7 separate regions of the Homo sapiens genome follow, and all the other regions are linked to region 4. Evidence: promoter capture Hi-C in 16 types of primary human blood cells and fetal thymus (Javierre and others, 2016). All regions are on one chromosome and are shown on one strand. Each heading gives the region's core, a stretch centred on a gene start or on the middle of the fragment in contact. The rest is flanking DNA. Distances are from core to core; before and after follow the strand shown.

The links. Contacts are between HindIII fragments. The CHiCAGO score rates a contact against its expected background, and 5 or more counts as called.
Region 1: a fragment that was not itself captured here is called in contact with the fragment with the promoter of GPR151 in region 4 in 3 of 17 cell types (naive CD4 T cells, total CD4 T cells and naive CD8 T cells); the score reaches 6.7 in naive CD4 T cells.
Region 2: a fragment that was not itself captured here is called in contact with the fragment with the promoter of GPR151 in region 4 in 5 of 17 cell types (total CD8 T cells, total CD4 T cells, naive CD4 T cells and 2 more); the score reaches 10.2 in total CD8 T cells.
Region 3: a fragment that was not itself captured here is called in contact with the fragment with the promoter of GPR151 in region 4 in 1 of 17 cell types (total B cells); the score reaches 5.2 in total B cells.
Region 5: a fragment that was not itself captured here is called in contact with the fragment with the promoter of GPR151 in region 4 in 1 of 17 cell types (naive CD8 T cells); the score reaches 5.1 in naive CD8 T cells.
Region 6: a contact is called between a fragment that was not itself captured here and the fragment with the promoter of GPR151 in region 4, in 1 of 17 cell types (activated CD4 T cells). The highest score is 6.3, in activated CD4 T cells.
Region 7: a contact is called between the fragment with the promoter of RBM27 here and the fragment with the promoter of GPR151 in region 4, in 9 of 17 cell types (activated CD4 T cells, monocytes, total CD8 T cells and 6 more). The highest score is 11.6, in activated CD4 T cells.

The regions. Positions count from the first base shown.
Region 1 is chr5:146,979,007-146,981,850 of GRCh38, reverse strand. It overlaps a transcript of PPP2R2B not described here. Among named protein-coding and RNA genes, the nearest start is that of PPP2R2B-IT1, 61 kb to the right of the region's middle. The HindIII fragment of the contact is 8,576 bases long and covers 1-2,844 here.
Region 2 is chr5:146,956,507-146,959,225 of GRCh38, reverse strand. It overlaps a transcript of PPP2R2B not described here. Among named protein-coding and RNA genes, the nearest start is that of PPP2R2B-IT1, 38 kb to the right of the region's middle. The HindIII fragment of the contact is 2,889 bases long and covers 1-2,719 here.
Region 3 is chr5:146,153,136-146,155,835 of GRCh38, reverse strand. LARS1 (leucyl-tRNA synthetase 1) reads left to right here. Exons shown (of 32, transcript NM_020117.11): 11 at 1,856-1,943; 12 at 2,026-2,102; 13 at 2,609-2,662. Among named protein-coding and RNA genes, the nearest start is that of LARS1, 28 kb to the left of the region's middle. The HindIII fragment of the contact is 1,840 bases long and covers 456-2,295 here.
Region 4 is chr5:146,514,785-146,517,484 of GRCh38, reverse strand. GPR151 (G protein-coupled receptor 151) reads left to right here and starts at 1,295. Exons shown (of 1, transcript NM_194251.3): 1 at 1,295-2,700. The coding sequence starts at 1,372. The coding sequence ends at 2,631. The HindIII fragment of the contact is 3,538 bases long and covers 784-2,700 here.
Region 5 is chr5:146,931,986-146,934,685 of GRCh38, reverse strand. It overlaps a transcript of PPP2R2B not described here. Among named protein-coding and RNA genes, the nearest start is that of PPP2R2B-IT1, 14 kb to the right of the region's middle. The HindIII fragment of the contact is 641 bases long and covers 1,093-1,733 here.
Region 6 is chr5:146,132,423-146,135,236 of GRCh38, reverse strand. LARS1 (leucyl-tRNA synthetase 1) reads left to right here. Exons shown (of 32, transcript NM_020117.11): 23 at 2,156-2,339. Among named protein-coding and RNA genes, the nearest start is that of PLAC8L1, 28 kb to the right of the region's middle. RefSeq lists an enhancer at 1,909-2,078. The HindIII fragment of the contact is 2,354 bases long and covers 243-2,596 here.
Region 7 is chr5:146,202,263-146,204,962 of GRCh38, reverse strand. RBM27 (RNA binding motif protein 27) reads right to left here and starts at 1,358. Exons shown (of 21, transcript NM_018989.2): 1 at 1,139-1,358. The coding sequence starts at 1,197. RBM27-POU4F3 (RBM27-POU4F3 readthrough) reads right to left here and starts at 1,358. Exons shown (of 20, transcript NM_001414499.1): 1 at 1,139-1,358. The coding sequence starts at 1,197. RefSeq lists enhancers at 1,143-1,302, 1,773-1,922. The HindIII fragment of the contact is 5,706 bases long and covers 1-2,700 here.

The DNA.
Region 1 (2,844 bases), core at 239-2,738, 460 kb before region 4:
TGTATATTGTATCTCTCAATTCCATTTATATAACATTCTTGCAAAGACAAAATTATAGGATTGGAGAACAGATTAGTAGTTGCCAAGGCTTAAGGAGGGGGTTTAAGTGAGAGGAAAGTAGATGTAAAAGGGCAGCATAGGGATCCTTGTGGGGATGGAAATGTTCTCTGTCTTTATTGTATCAATGTCAATATTTGGTTGTGATAGTATATTATAGTTTTGCAAGAAGTTACTATTGAGATAAGTTGGGAAAAGGATACAAGTGTTCTCTGTGTATTATTTCTTTCAAGTGCTTATGAACCCACAATTATCTCAAAGGAAAAAATATTTAATTAAACAAAAAAATTCCAAGAGATAGGAGACTGGTTATCTTCCAAAGAATATCAGACTCACAACCGAATTCTCGAAAACAATAAAAGCCAGAAAAAAATTCTTTAAGTAATAGATTCAAACTGCTGAAGAAAAAAAAATAACTCATTATATAGGACTTGACCCAGCTAAACTCTCATTGAAGAGTAAAAACAAAATAGAAACTTCTAGTTGTGAGGACTAAGAAAATTTACCACCCAAGACTCTCCCTAAAAGAGGGATTGAAGTATGAACTTCAGTAAGAAGAAAACTGAACCCTGAATGAAGCAGGGGAAGAACTGAATCCATTACTTCAGCAAATATTTGTAGAGTGCCTGCTATGTGCCAGGTACTATGAACAAAATAGGCAGAATTTCCTGCCTGCTCTTATGGGACTTAAAATTCTAGTGGGAGACATACAATAAACAAACAAAAAAAAATGAGTAAGAAATACAGTATTTTAAATGTTCTGAAGTTTCACTGAGTCCTTTCTAGATGTAGATATCTTTTTATTTAGTCTTTTTAGGATTCATTGTTTCTTGAATTTGAGTATCTAGGTTAAAAAAAATGTTTAAAGGTCCTCCTCCATTTTCAGAAACTGATAGGTTACAACACAGAAAACTAGTAAGGATATAGAGTTTTTAAATAATGCAATTAACTAGTGTCATGTAACAAACATGTATGTATATGAAATCTTGTATCTACACATTAGAGAAAGCAATTCTCCTATGCATGTATAAAACATTCCAAAAATTGACAACATATAGCCTCAAATTACATGCAAAAGATACTGTAAATCAATATAACAGAGACCACATTACCATAAAATTAGAATACATAAAAAAACAAGAGAGATTAATCTATTTAATGTTCAAGTCTTTCCCAGCCCATCTAGTTCCACAGGGAACAGGGATTCAACTCACATTTAGTTCAGGCATGGGAGCCTCCATTCTCTCCCTTGAGCCTTCCTTCCTCTCCTTCCTTTTCCTTGTTGCTGTTTCTTCCAGCTCTGTTCCTAATCTTAATCTCTGGGGTGGGTTGTCAGTGATCAGATTTCCCTTCTGGATGAGACTAGCAGGGAGGGGAGGGATGGTGTAAAGGAGACAGAGGTTCAAGTATTAAAAAGAATCTGAAGCATTTATCCTGCTAATTGGTTTTCTCTTTGAATACCATCTCTGCTTCATTGTGCTCAGAAAACTTCTGGCTGCTTCCCTGAATTACAAGATTTCCTTCTGTTACCTTATCTTCAGTATATGCCCAACATCTAGTTGGGAGATGTGGAAAGTCTACTCTGAAACATAGATACATGCACACATTTTTATTTTTATCACAATGAAGTCATGTTCTACATACTGTTCTGAATTTCTTTTTTTCATAAAAATATATCATTGGCATCTCTCCATAACAATAAATATAAATCTATCTCACCTATAAATTATGGAATTAAATTTAAAAATTAAATTCAATTTTGTGGATATCTCGAAGATGAAAACCACCAAGCCATATTAAAAAATAAAACAAGTTTGCATATGTGTTTGTATATATACACACACGTACCATTTTCTCCTTTTATCTGCCATGGTTTTGCTCTCTGGAGTTTCAGTTATCTGTGGTCAATTGCAATGAGAAATAGGTGAGTAGGGTACAATAAGATATTTTGAGAGACAGAGATCACATTCACATAACTTTTATTACAGTATATTGTTATAATTGTTCTATTTTATGAGTTATTGTTGTTAATCTCTGACTATGCCTTATTTGTAAATTAAACTTTATCATTGGTATGTATGTATGAGGTAAAACATTACATTTGTTATTTGTACATATGGTTCAGTACTATCTGTGGTTTCAGGCATTTACTGGGGGTCTTGGAACGTATCCCCTGTGGATAAAGAGGGACTAGCGTGTGTGTGTGTGTGTGTGTGTGTGTGTGTGTGTGTGTGTTTCAAGGTGGGAAGATTCAATATTGGTTCATTGGTTCATTTAAGTTTTATTTATTGAGCATCTATTGAGCATCTACTATGTGGCAGGTACTACTGTAGGCACTGAGGATACAGCAGTGAGCAAAATAAGTAAATTTCTTTGCTATTACAGAGTTTATATTCTAGTGGAAGGAAACAGAAAGTAAACAAGAAAATTGTGTGAAATTTTATAAAATGATGAATTCTATGGAGAAAAAGAAAACAGAAAATGATGAATAAGGAAGTATTGAGACAGAGAAGCAATATTAGATAGAAGGGCCAGAGATGTTCTCAGAAATGTAAATGAACAAAAACATTAAGAAGGTAAAAAAGCAAGCCATGCAGTTAACTGAGAGAAATGTGTTTCAGGCCAAGGAAACAGCAAGTATAAAGGCACTCAGGTAGAAGCGTATATGTCCTATTAGAGAAATAGCAAGGAGACCAATGTTACTGAAGTAGAGTAAGTAGAAATGGGAAAAGAGAGAAACGAAGCCATTCTTAAATACATCAGCTTTTCCTCCAGGTGAAATGGAGA
Region 2 (2,719 bases), core at 115-2,614, 440 kb before region 4:
TTTTGATTATTTACTATAAAATTCTATTTAGTTTCCAAGGACTATCATATTTGAAGGCAAAGACTTTAGACTTAGAATTTCCAGGTTTCTACTATACTCTCCCTCTGAACTAAATTGTAAATCTGGATGTCAGTATATTTTCCTAGATATTTATTAAAACACCTTAAAAATATTGGCTTTGGTTAGATTAAGGCTACTATGTAAGAACCAAATGTGAAATAAACAAGATCTCAACAGCTTTTTTGAATTGTTTGAATCCCACCTCCAACTACTTACTAAATGGATGATCTTGGGCATGTAATTTAATTTCTCTGTGCCATAGTTTTCTCATCTCTGAAATGGAAATAATAGAACCTATTGCATAAGTTTGTTGTGAGGTTTAAATTGGTTAATACATACAAAGAGCTAAGTTCACACAAAGGCACTCGGAAGATAGTAATGATATAGCTCATGATCTGAAGGAAAGAGGGCAGAGGCAGTATCATATACTGATTTATACTATGGCCTTTCAAGTTGGACAATCTTGAGTTTATATCCTGGCTCTAGTATTTATTAACTACGTAATTCAGGATAAGTTACATAACCTCTCTGAATCTTGATGTTCTCTCTAAATGAGGTTTAATAATGGCTACATTATGGAAATTTTGTGAGGATGAAATGAAAATCGTGACAATACAGAGTTAGTAAAATTCATTAGCACATGAAGAGTGATGAATAAATATTATTTTTGGTAGTGACGGTAATAAAGTAATAAGAGGTTACAGAGGTAAGATGACTAACACTAATTTTATGGATTCCTCATCTTTCCTTAGAAGGTAAATATGCCATACCCAGAAAGTGCTCATGGAGGCAGATCTACTAGTGATATTTCCTTCAAAAATGGAATGGAAAGATCTCTCTGGGATTGAAGGCTTTGGTGTGAAAATCAAGACAATTCAATAGAGTAAAGGGCTCCAAGGACCCAGATAAGGGCTAGAGACAGTGGCAGCTGAGCATCCTCAAGGGAAAATAAAAGGTACTTCTCTTCATAGATGGTGCCTGGAATCTGAAAGGGTGGGGCCTTCGGGAGATCTGCGATTAATGTCTGCTCGTTGCTGTATCTGAGGAACACTGGATATGGGTTGTTTGATTAATGTCTTGGCAGCAACATTTGGAGAAAAAAAAAAATAGATGTTTGATGATCCTCCTCCAACTCAGATTTTCCTACTTCCCTCATTATTCGACCCTTTTCTGTCAGTCCTAGGTTCACTTTATATTTTGAGCAGGTACATCTTTTTGACATGCAGCCAACACCATAGGCTGTAATTATAGTATTTTCTTCCTCCAGGATTCCCTGTGTTCCTTGTGAAGTGATATACGTGAGACTGAAAACTGTGAAAAAGGGATATAGTCTTCCCACTTCCTCTCCTCTAGACCTAGCACTGGCCCACTGGTCTTTGCACAACTTAGAAACTGAGACCATTTATTCAAGATATAGTGTTACCATAGGTCAGAACGTTATTGCAACAAATGTACAAAACTATGATGACTATGGTGAGATTGGTGCCCTAAAGCTGGGTAGAGTACAACCTACATAACTATTTGTGTCAGGTGCCTCTACCTGCTCCCACTGCCCTCTAACTTTATCTCCAACAATCATGCAAATAAAGATGTATTTATTTGTTTATATCCCATCAACTGGTGCCTACTGAATTTTCTCTTCTCTCTCAAGGCTCAACTTAAATACACTATTTGAAGAAGCCTCTAACATCCTTCTCTAGACTAAGTAAAATTCCTACTGTGCCCCCACCTCTTGCAGCTAGCACTATGCATGGTACACACTTCTGTCATTCAATTTATCATATCGGATGGCAGTCATTTGTTTACATGGCTGTCCCTCATTCTGAACTATGAGCTTCTGAAGCAAGACTACATGGGATGCTTATGCAAATGTAGATTTCTAAGTCTGACTGTTGATCTAAATCAGAATTGCTGGGCATAGAATCTAGAAATCTGCATTTTTAAATAAGACTCACCTGGGTAGTGTATGTCCCCTCCATTTTGAAGCTCACAGCTCCAGATGGCAACACACATATTTACTGCAAGTGGTAAAATATTGGACAATATGTTTTACTTGGAGAAAGACTTGGTGATTCATGTCTTCCCAATAATGAAATATTTGAGTTCCAAAATGTATTAGAAACTCTAGGATATGGCTATAGACTGAATGTTTATGTATTCCAAAATTCATATGCTGAAATCTTAACCCCCAAGCGATGGTATTAAGAGATGGACCTTTGGGAGGTGATGAGGCCATGAAGATAGAATCCTAATAAATGGGATTAATGCCCTCAAAAGAGAGACTCCAGAGAGTTCCCTTGCTCTTTCCACCATGTAAAGATGTAAGGACACGTGAAAGATGGCCATCTGCAAACCAGGAAGAGAGTCCTCATCAGACACCAAATCTGCTGGCCCCTTGATCTTGGACTTCCAGCCTCCAGAACTGTGAGAAGTAAATGTTTGTTGTTTAAGGCACTCAGTCTATGGTACTTTGTTATAGTAGACCAGATGGGCTAAGACAGATATATACATACATATGCATATTGTCTTCTGGAAAGAGCTATAATCTCAAGTCTATGGACTGGTCTGTGTGTTTGGCATGGGGAGACTTATGGAAAGAGATGGAGCGTACTCTTAAGTTTGAAGTGTTTCTAAAATATGCATGATGACAATATCCTGG
Region 3 (2,700 bases), core at 126-2,625, 360 kb after region 4:
GTTCTTGGGAACAGTATTAGGGACATACATGTTTTCCTATTCTTAATGCAACTTTTCTCCCTGTTAATTTGAGCAAATTCTGGCGTGAGGGACATGGATGTTATAAATTGCAAAATAGTTTCAACATTTAAAATGGTTATAATATTTAGCTGTCATCCATATGACTGCAAATTCTATAAAGGCAGGTTATAAGTACATATATGAATAAAGAGGGGTGGGTGGGAATTATGTGGAAAGGAAAAGTGTGTTCCTTAGCTAGAGCAAGAAGCTGCAAATTCTTTGTTGCCATCTGAGAATTTGGGTCTAAAATTGCTTAATCTTTTGGATTTTTTCAAGTGAAATTAGAACTATCCTTTTACTTTGTCTTCATAACTACTATTTTAAATAGATGTATAGTACCCATTCTTGTTCTTGTAACATATTTTGTTAAATCATTTTTTCTATCATTGAAAGCTTTAGTTGTTTCCAGGCTTTCCTAGTATAATTAACTCAGCATTGGGTAGACTTGTTTAAGAAAAAATAATTAGTTGTTGTTGAGTCTGAGTTACATGAACATTTTGTGGCTTTTGCTGTGGATTCCTATATTTTCTTCAAGGAGTACAATGTCACAAACAATGTATTAGTGTACTCATGTCATAATATTGACAGATTTAGTTATTATAATTATTAAAAATTATTTTTCCGGGACGGGCACGGTGGCTCATGCCTGTAATGCCAGCACTTTGGGAGGCAGAGGTGCGTGGATCACCTGGGGTCAGGAGTTCAAGACCAGCCTGGCCAACATGGTGAAACCCTGTCTCTACTAAAAATACAGAAATTAGCCAGGCGTGGTGGTGCATGCCTGTAATCCCAGCTACATGGGAGGCTGAGGCAGGAATCGCTGGAACCTGGGAGGCGGAGGTTGCAGTGAGCCGAGATCATGCCATTGCACTCCAGCTTGAGTAACAAGAGCAGAACTCCATCTCAAAAAAAAAATTATTTTTCCTCTAGTAGGTATAAAATAATGTGTTTTGTTTTACTTCATATGTATTTTATTTATATTCTTTTCTTTATTTTTTGAGACGGGGTCTCCCTCTGTCACCCAGGCTGGAGTGCAGTGGCACGATCTTGGCTCACTACAACCTCCACCTCTCGGGTTCAAGCAATTCTCCCGCCTCAGCCTTCCAAATAGCTGGGACTACAGGCGCATGCCACCACGCCTGGCTAATTTTTTGTATTTTAGTAGAGACGGGGTTTCACCATGTTGCCCAGGCTGGTCGCGAACTCCTAAGCTCAGGCAATCTGCCTGCCTCAGCATCCCAAAGTGCTGGGTTTACAGGCGTTAGCCACCGCGCTCAGCCTGTATTCATTTTTTAATTGACAGAAATTGTATTTATGGTACGCAATATGTTTTGAAATATATATACATTGTGAAATGGCTAAATTGAGGTAATTAACAAATTTATACCTTACGTACTTACCATTTTCTGTGGTGAGAAGAGTTAAAATTTAAATCAGGTGCAGTGGTATGCACCTGTAGAGCCAGCTACTTGGGAGGCTGGGACCTCAGGAGGCTTGCCTGAGCCCAGGAGCTTGAGCCTGTAGAATGCTATGATAGCACCTGTGAATAGCCTCTACACTCTAGCCTTGGCAACATAGCAAGGCTCTGTCTCTTAAAAAAATCTACACAGCAATTTTCAAGTATAAAATACATTGTTATTTCCTATAGTCACCATATTGTACAATATAGCTCTTGAATTTATTTCCATATATTTTTGATTACTAGCTTCTCAGGGCTTAAAATATTAACATAGTTTTAATTCTAATGGTCACAATGAATTACTTCACCTTTTATATTGATTTTTTTCTTATGCAGGAAATTCTTGGTGCATCACTTTCTGCACCTTTAACATCATACAAGGTGATCTATGTTCTCCCAATGCTAACTATTAAGGAGGATAAAGGTAAAGAGTTTATTTATTTCTAGAAATATTTTGATAAACACATTTTGGTTCTAGTTATTAATTCCACACTTTGTTTTCTAAGGCACTGGTGTGGTTACAAGTGTTCCTTCCGACTCCCCTGATGATATTGCTGCCCTCAGAGACTTGAAGAAAAAGCAAGTAAGTATCTGAGTTTCATGTTTGTATTTCGTCCTCACCATCTCATTGCTTAGGTGCTGCTGAACTACGCTGTGGGACTAGGCTAAAAAGCTATGCATTTATCTTTAAACTGCTATCTCTAACTTGTTTCTTGATGTTAATATATTTTCTGTGGTTTGAATTTTAAATATGTTCACAGAATTTTGAAAAAGCTTTCTGATATTCACATTTTCATTGAAATCTGGCATATGAACCTCAATTTAAGTGATATGTGTATGTCTATGTACATTTTTGCTTTTGGTTGTGTGGTTTCATTTAGGCTATTCACTATAACTTTAGCTATTAAATTTTTGAAGGTTACAGATCCCTTTTGAGATATTTGGCAAAGTTAGAAAATTGCTCTCTATGGAGAGGAGAACAAATAGAAACTTTAAAGAAACTTTTAAGAAACTTTGGAGATTGCTTCTCTCAATGATTCTCCCAGTAAAGTGTTGATCATTAGTGTTAACTTGCAAATTTTTCTGTAGGCCTTACGAGCAAAATATGGAATTAGAGATGACATGGTCTTGCCATTTGAGCCGGTGAGTACATAGATAATTCAGAATATTCACATCCATCT
Region 4 (2,700 bases), core at 46-2,545:
TTGCTTATTTTAAAATTTCAGGGCTAGTTCTACCAAATCATCTTATCTGAGAATTTTTTTATTTCTAGAGACAGAGGATCACTCTGTCACTCAGGTTGGAGTGCAGCAGCACAGTCATAGCTCACTGCAACCTCGAACTCCTGGGCTTAAGCAACCCTCTCACCTCAGTCTCTTAAGTAGCTAGGACTACAGGTGTACACCATCATGGCTGACTTTTTTTTTTTTCTTTTTTTTTTTTTTCTTGTTTGTTTGGTAGAGGTGGGGGCAGGGGTCTCACTTTGTTGCCCAGGCTGGTCTCGAACTTCTGGCCTTAAGCAATCCTCCCGCCTCCACCTCCCCAAATTCTGGGATTACAGGCATGAGCCAGTGTGCCCAGCACAAAATCTTTACCAACTTTAAAATATAATTTAAAAAAATCTCTTAAATGCCTTCCACATAGATATTGATTTTTCTTTCATTTCTCTTGTCTTGGTAAATCCTCTAGGAATGCTCTCTGAAAAGCAGCTTAATTCATCATGCAGTTGCCTTCATCACCATCACTTGTTGAAAAGTCTTATTAGTATGTAAAGCAGTTCTAATTTGGAGCTGTAAAATTGCTTCTAAAAACTCGTAATAGAATAAACTGAGAGTCATCCATAATTAGATTTTTTTAATAGGACTTCTAACTTGTTTTCATTATCCAGCTGTGTTTGAACTCAGCCAGCTGTTGATGGAACTGAGGTGGTTGTAAGGGTTGGGGAAAAGAAGAGGAAGCTCATCTCTGCAGAGTGGGTAGGGGAAGCTTTAGTTCTCAGTTTAAAACAGTGGTTCTCAAAGTGTGGTCTCCCAACCTGCAGCATCAGAGTCTCATGGGAACTTGTTAGAAATGATTTCTTGGGCCCTACTCCAGACCCACTGGATCCGGCCATCAGGTGAAGTTCAAAGAACTTGGTTCAGATGTAGTGTTCACTAAATTACAGACAGCAGTCAAGATTTTAGGAAGAGCTGGTTGAAAATAATTGCCTTGACTGGCTCTAGTGACCCCCCAAGGAACACATGCCACTTACATGTATGTTCTCTTCATTCATCATTTATGGGTATATTTGTATTACTCCACAGGGCTGACGATTTGGTATTAGACTTGCTAATGAGCAGCAGCCATGTGCTCCTGCTATCTGACAGTCGGTACAGTCACAAGTATATTGTATGCAGCAGAGAAGAGCTTAACAGCCAGCCTCCTTCCACATTCTGCTCTCAGGAAATAAGCAAGGGGAGGATCCAGAAGTGTCATTTGACACTGACGACAGAGTACTTATTTCCTATGCAAAAGAGCCCAGGCAGAAAGACAAACCTAAATAAGAATCTAACTTCTGTAAGAAGCTGTGAAGAGTGATGCTGGCAGCTGCCTTTGCAGACTCTAACTCCAGCAGCATGAATGTGTCCTTTGCTCACCTCCACTTTGCCGGAGGGTACCTGCCCTCTGATTCCCAGGACTGGAGAACCATCATCCCGGCTCTCTTGGTGGCTGTCTGCCTGGTGGGCTTCGTGGGAAACCTGTGTGTGATTGGCATCCTCCTTCACAATGCTTGGAAAGGAAAGCCATCCATGATCCACTCCCTGATTCTGAATCTCAGCCTGGCTGATCTCTCCCTCCTGCTGTTTTCTGCACCTATCCGAGCTACGGCGTACTCCAAAAGTGTTTGGGATCTAGGCTGGTTTGTCTGCAAGTCCTCTGACTGGTTTATCCACACATGCATGGCAGCCAAGAGCCTGACAATCGTTGTGGTGGCCAAAGTATGCTTCATGTATGCAAGTGACCCAGCCAAGCAAGTGAGTATCCACAACTACACCATCTGGTCAGTGCTGGTGGCCATCTGGACTGTGGCTAGCCTGTTACCCCTGCCGGAATGGTTCTTTAGCACCATCAGGCATCATGAAGGTGTGGAAATGTGCCTCGTGGATGTACCAGCTGTGGCTGAAGAGTTTATGTCGATGTTTGGTAAGCTCTACCCACTCCTGGCATTTGGCCTTCCATTATTTTTTGCCAGCTTTTATTTCTGGAGAGCTTATGACCAATGTAAAAAACGAGGAACTAAGACTCAAAATCTTAGAAACCAGATACGCTCAAAGCAAGTCACAGTGATGCTGCTGAGCATTGCCATCATCTCTGCTCTCTTGTGGCTCCCCGAATGGGTAGCTTGGCTGTGGGTATGGCATCTGAAGGCTGCAGGCCCGGCCCCACCACAAGGTTTCATAGCCCTGTCTCAAGTCTTGATGTTTTCCATCTCTTCAGCAAATCCTCTCATTTTTCTTGTGATGTCGGAAGAGTTCAGGGAAGGCTTGAAAGGTGTATGGAAATGGATGATAACCAAAAAACCTCCAACTGTCTCAGAGTCTCAGGAAACACCAGCTGGCAACTCAGAGGGTCTTCCTGACAAGGTTCCATCTCCAGAATCCCCAGCATCCATACCAGAAAAAGAGAAACCCAGCTCTCCCTCCTCTGGCAAAGGGAAAACTGAGAAGGCAGAGATTCCCATCCTTCCTGACGTAGAGCAGTTTTGGCATGAGAGGGACACAGTCCCTTCTGTACAGGACAATGACCCTATCCCCTGGGAACATGAAGATCAAGAGACAGGGGAAGGTGTTAAATAGATTTAAGTTTCAAAGCAAAACAAACTGTGATTATTGTATTTACTTGTACTGCTGCTTATCAATATTGCT
Region 5 (2,700 bases), core at 164-2,663, 420 kb before region 4:
GCTACAGCTAAACCTAGAAAAGCTACAGGTATATTTGTTGAGGCCAAAGTCTCCCCAGGCACCAAACACGTTCTTTTTTTTTTTTTTTTTTTTTTTTTTTTTCTTATGAAAAACTACCTCTTCTAACTCTAGGACACCTCAGAACTTCCGTTTGTCCAACCCCATCAAAAAGTGGGCGAAGGACATGAACAGACACTTCTCAAAAGAAGACATTTATGCAGCCAAAAAACACATGAAAAAATGCTTATCATCACTGGCCATCAGAGAAATGCAAATCAAAACCACAATGAGATATCATCTCACACCAGTTAGAATGGCAATCATTAAAAAGTCAGGAAACAACAGGTGCTGGAGAGGATGTGGAGAAATAGGAACACTTTTACACTGTTGGTGGGACTGTAAACTAGTTCAACCATTGTGGAAGTCAGTGTGGCGATTCCTCAGGGATCTAGAACTAGAAATACCATTTGACCCAGCCATCCCATTACTGGGTATATACCCAAATGACTGTAAATCATGCTGCTATAAAGACACATGCACACATATATTTATTGCAGCATTATTCACAATAGCAAAGACTTGGAACCAACCCAAATGTCCAAGAATGATAGACTTGATTAAGAAAATGTGGCACATATACACCATGGAATACTATGCAGCCATAAAAAACGATGAGTTCATGTCCTTTGTAGTGACATGGATGAAATTGGAAATCATCATTCTCAGTAAACTATCACAAGAACAAAAAACCAAACACCGCATGTTCTCACTCATAGGTGGGAATTGAACAATGAGACCACATGGACACAGGAAGGGGAACATCACACTCTGGGGACTGTTGTGGGGTGGGGGGAGGGGGAGGGATAGCATTGGGAGATACACCTAATGCTAGATGACAAGTTAGTGGGTGCAGTGCACCAGCATGGCACATGTATACATATGTAACGAACCTGCACAATGTGCACATGTACCCTAAAACTTAAAGTATAATAATAAAAGAAAAAAAAAACTTAAAAAAAAAAAAGAACTTCCGTTTGTCACGATAGGTCACATGTTCTTAAATGGGTCTCATTTTGCTTCTCTCTGGAAGCTTGGTAATCTCCCTGAAGTAGAAATTTCAGAATAAAGTGAGGTGGCCCTTAATGGTATCCCAAGTGTGGTTGATAATAGGTTTTATTTTTTTCTCTTGTTTTTTTCTCAAGAATCAGGTGTCATAGACAAAATACTTATCTGAGAGAGAATGGGAATAAAAACTCCCTAATAATCATTTTCAAAATCTTTTGATTTTTTAAAGAAATAATTAAGGTGCAGCTTTGACCTGCTCTGTAATCAGAGGATTGGGTTCCCTGGATACAGACTTTGTGCTATTCTACTTAACCAAAGAGCAACTTGGGCGTTTATCCAGGATATTCCTCAAGGATCTAATATGTTAATTGAAAAAAAATCTTAGGAAATAACTTTACAACCAAAAAATTCATCTGGTTGGAAACACATGGGATTATTTTCCAATCCCTGTTACTTGAAATCTCAGCTGCTGAAGCAAAGGATATTAAAAATATATATAAGAATTTCTCAAAGAGCAAACAGAATTAGTTACAATTCCAAGGTTGAATACAACCAGCTTTAATTAAAACAGCATATGATATAATTCCCACGTGAATATTTTAGCATGCTTAGTGCTGGTACAGGTAAAGAAACAGTTTCCTGGGCTGTCCTTCCAGATTCTCAAAGCTTCTTTGATACCTCCACAGCTGTAATATCTCTGCTAGATATAGCTTTCTCCTCTGCCCCCTTGCTCAAGGAAGTCTTCTTGATCTACTTCAGCATTTGATATCTCTCTGCATATACTAGGTGGTTAGTTTTCCTTTTCTCACTGCTCTTTGACCTTGTTTATCATGATCACAAATGGGATGTATATAAAGAAGAAGAAAGCTAGGAGAAGATTCAGCCACCTGGGCCACTAGAGTCTTCAGTCTCTTCATGGAATCTATTGTCCAAAGATCTGTTTGTTAGTCTGTTCTCATGCTGCTAATAAAGACATACCCAACACTTTGTAAAGGAAATATAATTTATAAAGGAAAGAAGTTTAGTGGACTCACAGTTCCACATGGCTGGGGAGGCCTCACAGTCATGGCAGAAGGCAAAGGAGAAGCAAAGGCCTGTCTTACGTGGCAGCAGACAAGAAAAAGTGCCAAGCAAAAAGGGGAAAAGCTCCTTTTAAAACCATGAGACCTCCTGAGAACTCACTATCACAAGAACAGCAGTATAGGGGTAACCACACCCATGATTTAATTACCTCCCACTGGGACCCTCCCACGACATGTGGGGATTATGGGAACTACCATTCAAGATGAGATTTGGGTGGGGACACAGCCAAACCATATCAATTTAATATCTTTGGTAATTCAAATTATCCTTTCAAACCAGGATAGAAAGCTGAGGGACAGGCTGATACCTTGATAAACCTTAAATACAATAGGCCTTGAATTCAAGAATCCCAGTTCCCTGGAGATGACTTTGACCTAATTTAAGGAAAACAAACAAATAAAAGGGAGTGATGTTTGTAAATAGTTACTGAATGAATGGGTGGGCCAATCTAAACGATTCAGTTCAAACATACTAAGGAAGGTTCAAAGAGTTTGAAATTCTCCTGGTGTTTCAGGAAGAATAACAGGAAATATTTCAGATTATTGCTGATGA
Region 6 (2,814 bases), core at 170-2,669, 380 kb after region 4:
AAGACCAGCCTGGCCAACATGGTGAAATCCTGTCTCAACTAAAAATACAAAAAAAAAAAAAAAAATTAGCTGGGTGTGGTGGCAGGTGCCTGTAATCCAGGCTACTTTGGGAGGCTGAGGCAGGAGAATCGCTTGAACCCGGGAGGCGGAGGTTGCAGTGGGCTGAGATTGCATTGCACTCCAGCTTAGGCAACAAGAGTGAAACTCTGTCTCAAAAAAAAATGTTGAGTATGTAGGAAGCTTTTCCAAGATATTTCCTCTGTATTTGGTATTCCATTCTTATTAACTGAGACAGAGTCTTGCTCTGTCACCCAGGCTGGAGTACAGTGGCATGATCTTGGCTCACTGCAACCTCCATCTCCAGGGTTCAAGCGATTCTTGTGCCTCAGCCTCTCAAATAGCTGGGATTACAGGCATGTGCCTGCACGCTTGGCTAATTTTTGTATTTCTAGTAGAGACGGGGTTTTGCCTTGTTGGCCAGGCTGGTCTTGAACTCTTGGCCTCAAGTGATCCACCCTCCTTGGCCTTCCAAAGTGCTGGGATTATAGGCATGAGCCACCATGCCTGGCCTGTATTTGGTATTCCTAAATGTGTCTTGAACCTGGGAACATTGATTTTTTCAGAAAATTGTTTTTTTGTCTGGCCTCAGTCCTATTACATTTTATTATTATCGTGTCAAGAGAAGAAATGCACTATCCTGAAAGAACCATTCATTTCTTATATAATTAGTCATTGGTCATCATGGTACTTCTTTTTATTGGTCATGGCTAACTCAGTTTGTGTTCTCAGTATTTTGACTGGACACCAAAGCCAAAGACGGAACTGTATCCAAATAATATAGTTAGTCTGTTTCTTACAAGATATATAAGCAATTATGAAACCACTTTATGTATATATTAGGATTGAATAAATAAGTAAACAGGTAGATAATGAGAACCTCTGCCTCACAGAGCTCACTATCAGAAAAAGAAGCTATAAATAAGTAAAGAGAAAATGCTAGAATGAGCCCTATGGGGTCAGATTGGATTTGGTGATAAAAGTATGAGCTCATGATTTTTATTTTGTGTATAGATATGTAGATATAAAACTAAACAGCTGGGTGTGGTGGCTCACACTTGTAATCCCAGCACTTTGGGAGGCTGAGGTGGGCAGTTTACCTGAGATCGGGAGTTTCAGACCAGCCTGACCAACATGGAGAAACCCTGTCTCTATTAAAAGTACAAAATTAGCCGGGCGTGGTGGCGCATGCCTGTAATCCCAGCTACTCAGGAGGCTGAGGCAGTAGAATTGCTTGAATCCAAGAGGCGGAGGTTGCACTGAGCCGAGATCGCGCCATTGCATTCTATCTTGGGCAACAAGAGCGAAACTCCATCTCAAACAAACAAACAAAAAACATAGATATGTGTATGTATGGGTTAGTATACAAATATGAACTGTTAAGTGGAAAAGGCAAAGTGCAGAACCTGAATGCTTTGATTGGACACCAAAGCTAAAGACGGAAATAACTACATAATGAGTTCCCTCTTTTTTTTTTTTTTTTTTTTGCAACCCTATAGTGTTCCATTGTAGGGATATCCTACAGTTTAATTGATGGACATTTAGGTTCTTTTTTTCAATATTTTAGAATGGAAGATTTTGGTAGTACTGAGAGATGAGAATTGAAAAAGTAAAGTTTTATTAGTGATAAACTTGTAAGAACCTAGTTTCAAAACTGAGAAAAATTCATATGCATTTGTACACATAAGGCACCAGTGTGTATTCTCATGTATTAAAATGTATTTTGCTACCTCTAAATGAGGCTGAAATGTTGATAAGAAAACCACAATGAAAGGTGTGTCTTTATCCCCACTTTATCATTTTCTATCTCTGCCTCATTAAAGATCACTTTATCTCATTAACTCAACATGCCTGAGAAGAAACACATATTGGTGCTTAGTGGATGCAAATCAATATGGATGGTTCGAATATTTTAACATCACGGTTAGGGATGCTACTTTTTGGTGATTTTAATTTTTGTTGTTGATCCAGGACAGTCCTTTAAAGCATTTGTTAATTTATATATGGGCTTTGCAAGGTATCCAACTGGACACATAGGACACAGTTGATACTCAGTAACCATATTTTTAATGCATTGAATTTTTTTTTCTTCTTCCAGGAATGCGTTTGGCTCTGGCTGATGCTGGTGACACTGTAGAAGATGCCAACTTTGTGGAAGCCATGGCAGATGCAGGTATTCTCCGTCTGTACACCTGGGTAGAGTGGGTGAAAGAAATGGTTGCCAACTGGGACAGCCTAAGAAGTGGTCCTGCCAGCACTTTCAATGATAGAGTTTTTGCCAGGTAATCTGTAGATCCCAATCATTTTGTGTTTTAGAGTTACTTAGTCCTGGTGCATTTTTGTTTTCTTTTTCTTTTCTTTTCTTTTTTTTTTTTAATAAAATAAACTAATGATAATAATAGCTAGTGTTCATTGAAGGCTTACTTGTGCCGGGTACTATGCTAAGTATTTTGTGTCCATTATCTGACTTTAACCTCAAAGCAACCTTATTTAATACAGATATTATTAGCTCTATTTTATAAATAAAGAAACTGAAGCTTAGAACAATTAAGTATTTCCTTAAATGCCTTAAAGCTAGTAGTTGCAAACTTGGGATATGAACTTGCTTCTGTCTGTCTTGAAAGTCTGTTCTCATAACCATTTTACCATGTTGTCTTGTTTTCGAGTAGGGCAAAATGGTTAAAGGAAAAGTAGATTAAAAGAAAAGGATAAATATCTTTGGAGTCATCCTACGCACTGGTATTATAAAGATGAATG
Region 7 (2,700 bases), core at 109-2,608, 310 kb after region 4:
TCCAGCCACTGCACTCCAGCCTGGGAGACACAGCGAGACATTGTTTCAAAAAAAAAAGGTTATAAAACAAAATGTTGATACATCTGTTACCTCTTTCAAGCCTCCCAATAACATTTCTACTAACACCACCCAAAATATTTTTAAAAGACAGGTCTCTCATTCTTTTCGGTCCCTCATACTACACCCCAATTATCTTCAGGTGTCCTCTCAATCTTACAAAAACATTTACAAAACTGTCCTCTCAATGGCACAAGAATACTTACAAATCTCTTATTCTTTCTACCGCTCCTTTTATTCCTCCAACACCACCTGTATCTAAAAATCCCTACATACTGTTAGGTATACTCCTCCACCAATTAATGCTGCATACCAGTGTAGCCCTTTCAACCTTCAACTAAACTTACAGAAACCTCTTTTTTCCAACCTCTATGTATCTAAAAGTCATCAGTTCCCCTAGCACTATCAAGCCCTCAATAATACTTTAAAATCCCTTAATATCCTTGCTATCACACTTATCACCTCCCCAATAATTTCTAAAACCCTTCAATGCCCACACATCCTTTTCATCTACTCCATAGTATTTTTCAAATCCTTCAATATTCTTGATCCCTCAGAACTTACCAATAATCGCTATACAGTTTCAATGTCCCTGCTATCCGCTTCTGCCCTCATATTTCGAAAATGCCCTCGATATTTTGCTTCTAGACCTTTCAGTCCCGGAATAATAATGTTTATCAAACCCTTGATATTCTGCTATTCCCTTCGACATCTCAATATTCACATTTTAAAAATCCCTCAAGAGCCCCGTTACCTCTCTCTCAGTTCTCAAACAGCAATGTTTTAAATTCCCTCACGGCCCCTGCTACCCCTTCCAGCACCCCGATATTTGCGTTTGAAAAGCCTTCGCTGTCCTTGCCTGCCCCCCCAGTCCCCATATTCACGGCGCCTCTCCGTCCCCAGCGCTCCTCTCCCACCCTCACCCCCACCACAATGGTGATAGTACTACAGGGAAGGCGTCGCCGGGACCTCCCGGCCGCGGCCCCTCAGCGCCGCCCCCCACGCCACCTCCCCTCCCCCACGCCCCCGCGAGCCCCCAACGCCCACGTTCGCCGGCCCCGGCCCAGCCCGGCTCACTCACATCGGCTCCAGTAACTTGGCCAGCCAGGACTTGAGGGCATCCACATCCTCTATGAGCATGGTGCAGGGAAGGCGGGCTCGGCCGCCGCTCTTCTTCAGGCCTGCCGTGGGTCTCCACTACGCCGCCCCCTCACGTTCCCTTCACAGCTCCCGGTGCCCCAGCCCACCGGGCATCTTAGGAGACTTCAACCTACTCCCCCGGCCGGGGCCTAACAGGAACTAACCCAAGAGCCCTCACTCAACCTAGCCCGAAGGCTGAGGTGGGCGGGAGACAGTGCCGAGTGGCAGGCCTGAGAACCAGTAAGAGAGAGGGGGCCCTGAGGGCAAGACCAATGAAAAGGCTCGCTCGCCCCGCCGGCAGGCGGTACCCAGTCAGGGAGGAGAGATATAGCAAGGTAGGTGGAGAGCTTAAGTGAACTCCTGGTGCAAGATGGTATCTTGGAAAAGGTGCTTTGCCTCTTAAAGGGGCAGCGGCGCCTTTTTTTGACCACGCCGCCGCCCGCCGCGGAATACCGGTGTCTGCTGCTGGGAGTGCCTGGGGGAACCCGGCGAGCCCCTCAGCCTGGTTCCTTCCTCTCGTTTTTCTTGGAAACACACACTCGTGTCCCGAAATGACTCAGCTGTAGTAAATCTGCAACACAACGTGCAATACGTTCACGTTCGACACATTGCACAGAATGCAAAATTTTACTTTTTTTCTTTACACACTCATGTTGATTGGCACTCACGTTTGTATTTTCTGCTGCTCTGCTTTAATTACGCAGAATGTTTCTGACAACCATGCCTTGGAATCCAGTAATCGTCATTTTTAAAACGTGGCGCACGGATGTAAAAGGCTGAGGCCATTTCAATTTTGCTAGTACTATTAATAAATGTTGCTTTATTTAGGAAGAAAAATGACTCCAATAGTTTGTTTTTAATTATCTTTTCATTGTATATCTAAAATTCAGTGGTTGGGGGACGGGAAGGGAGAATTTTAATCAGCAAAGAAGGATTACAAAAAAATTTTTAAGACAAATTAGAAACTACTGAAATAGTCAACTTACTTTCTAGTAGGTGAGAAATTCTTTCTGGAGTTTTGAAATCACTGATTTAGCACTGATGTTAAAATGTTTACCCAATAACATATACTGAGTCCCTGCAATTGCCAGCACTGAGTAAGGCACTAGGAGTCCAATGCTGAGCAAAACAGAGCTTCTCCTCTTAAGATGATGAACAGTTTATGGGGTTATGCATTGTAATAACATTTTGAAAAATACCTAATGAGCACGCACCTCATATAAAAGAAATGGATCAACCTCAAATAAACAGACATCCTATATATACATAGAACAGGTATAGGCAAACTTCTGCAAAGGATCAGATACTAAATATTTTGGTTTTGTGAGCCTTGAGGTATCTATGGCAACTACTCGTCATACAATGTCTTGGCTTAAAATTAACCAGGGACAATATGTAAATGGAATGATTGTGGCTGTATTACAAACATTTATTAAAATTATATAAAATTTTAAATTTATATAATTTTCACATACCATGAAATATTATCTTTTCATTTTTTTC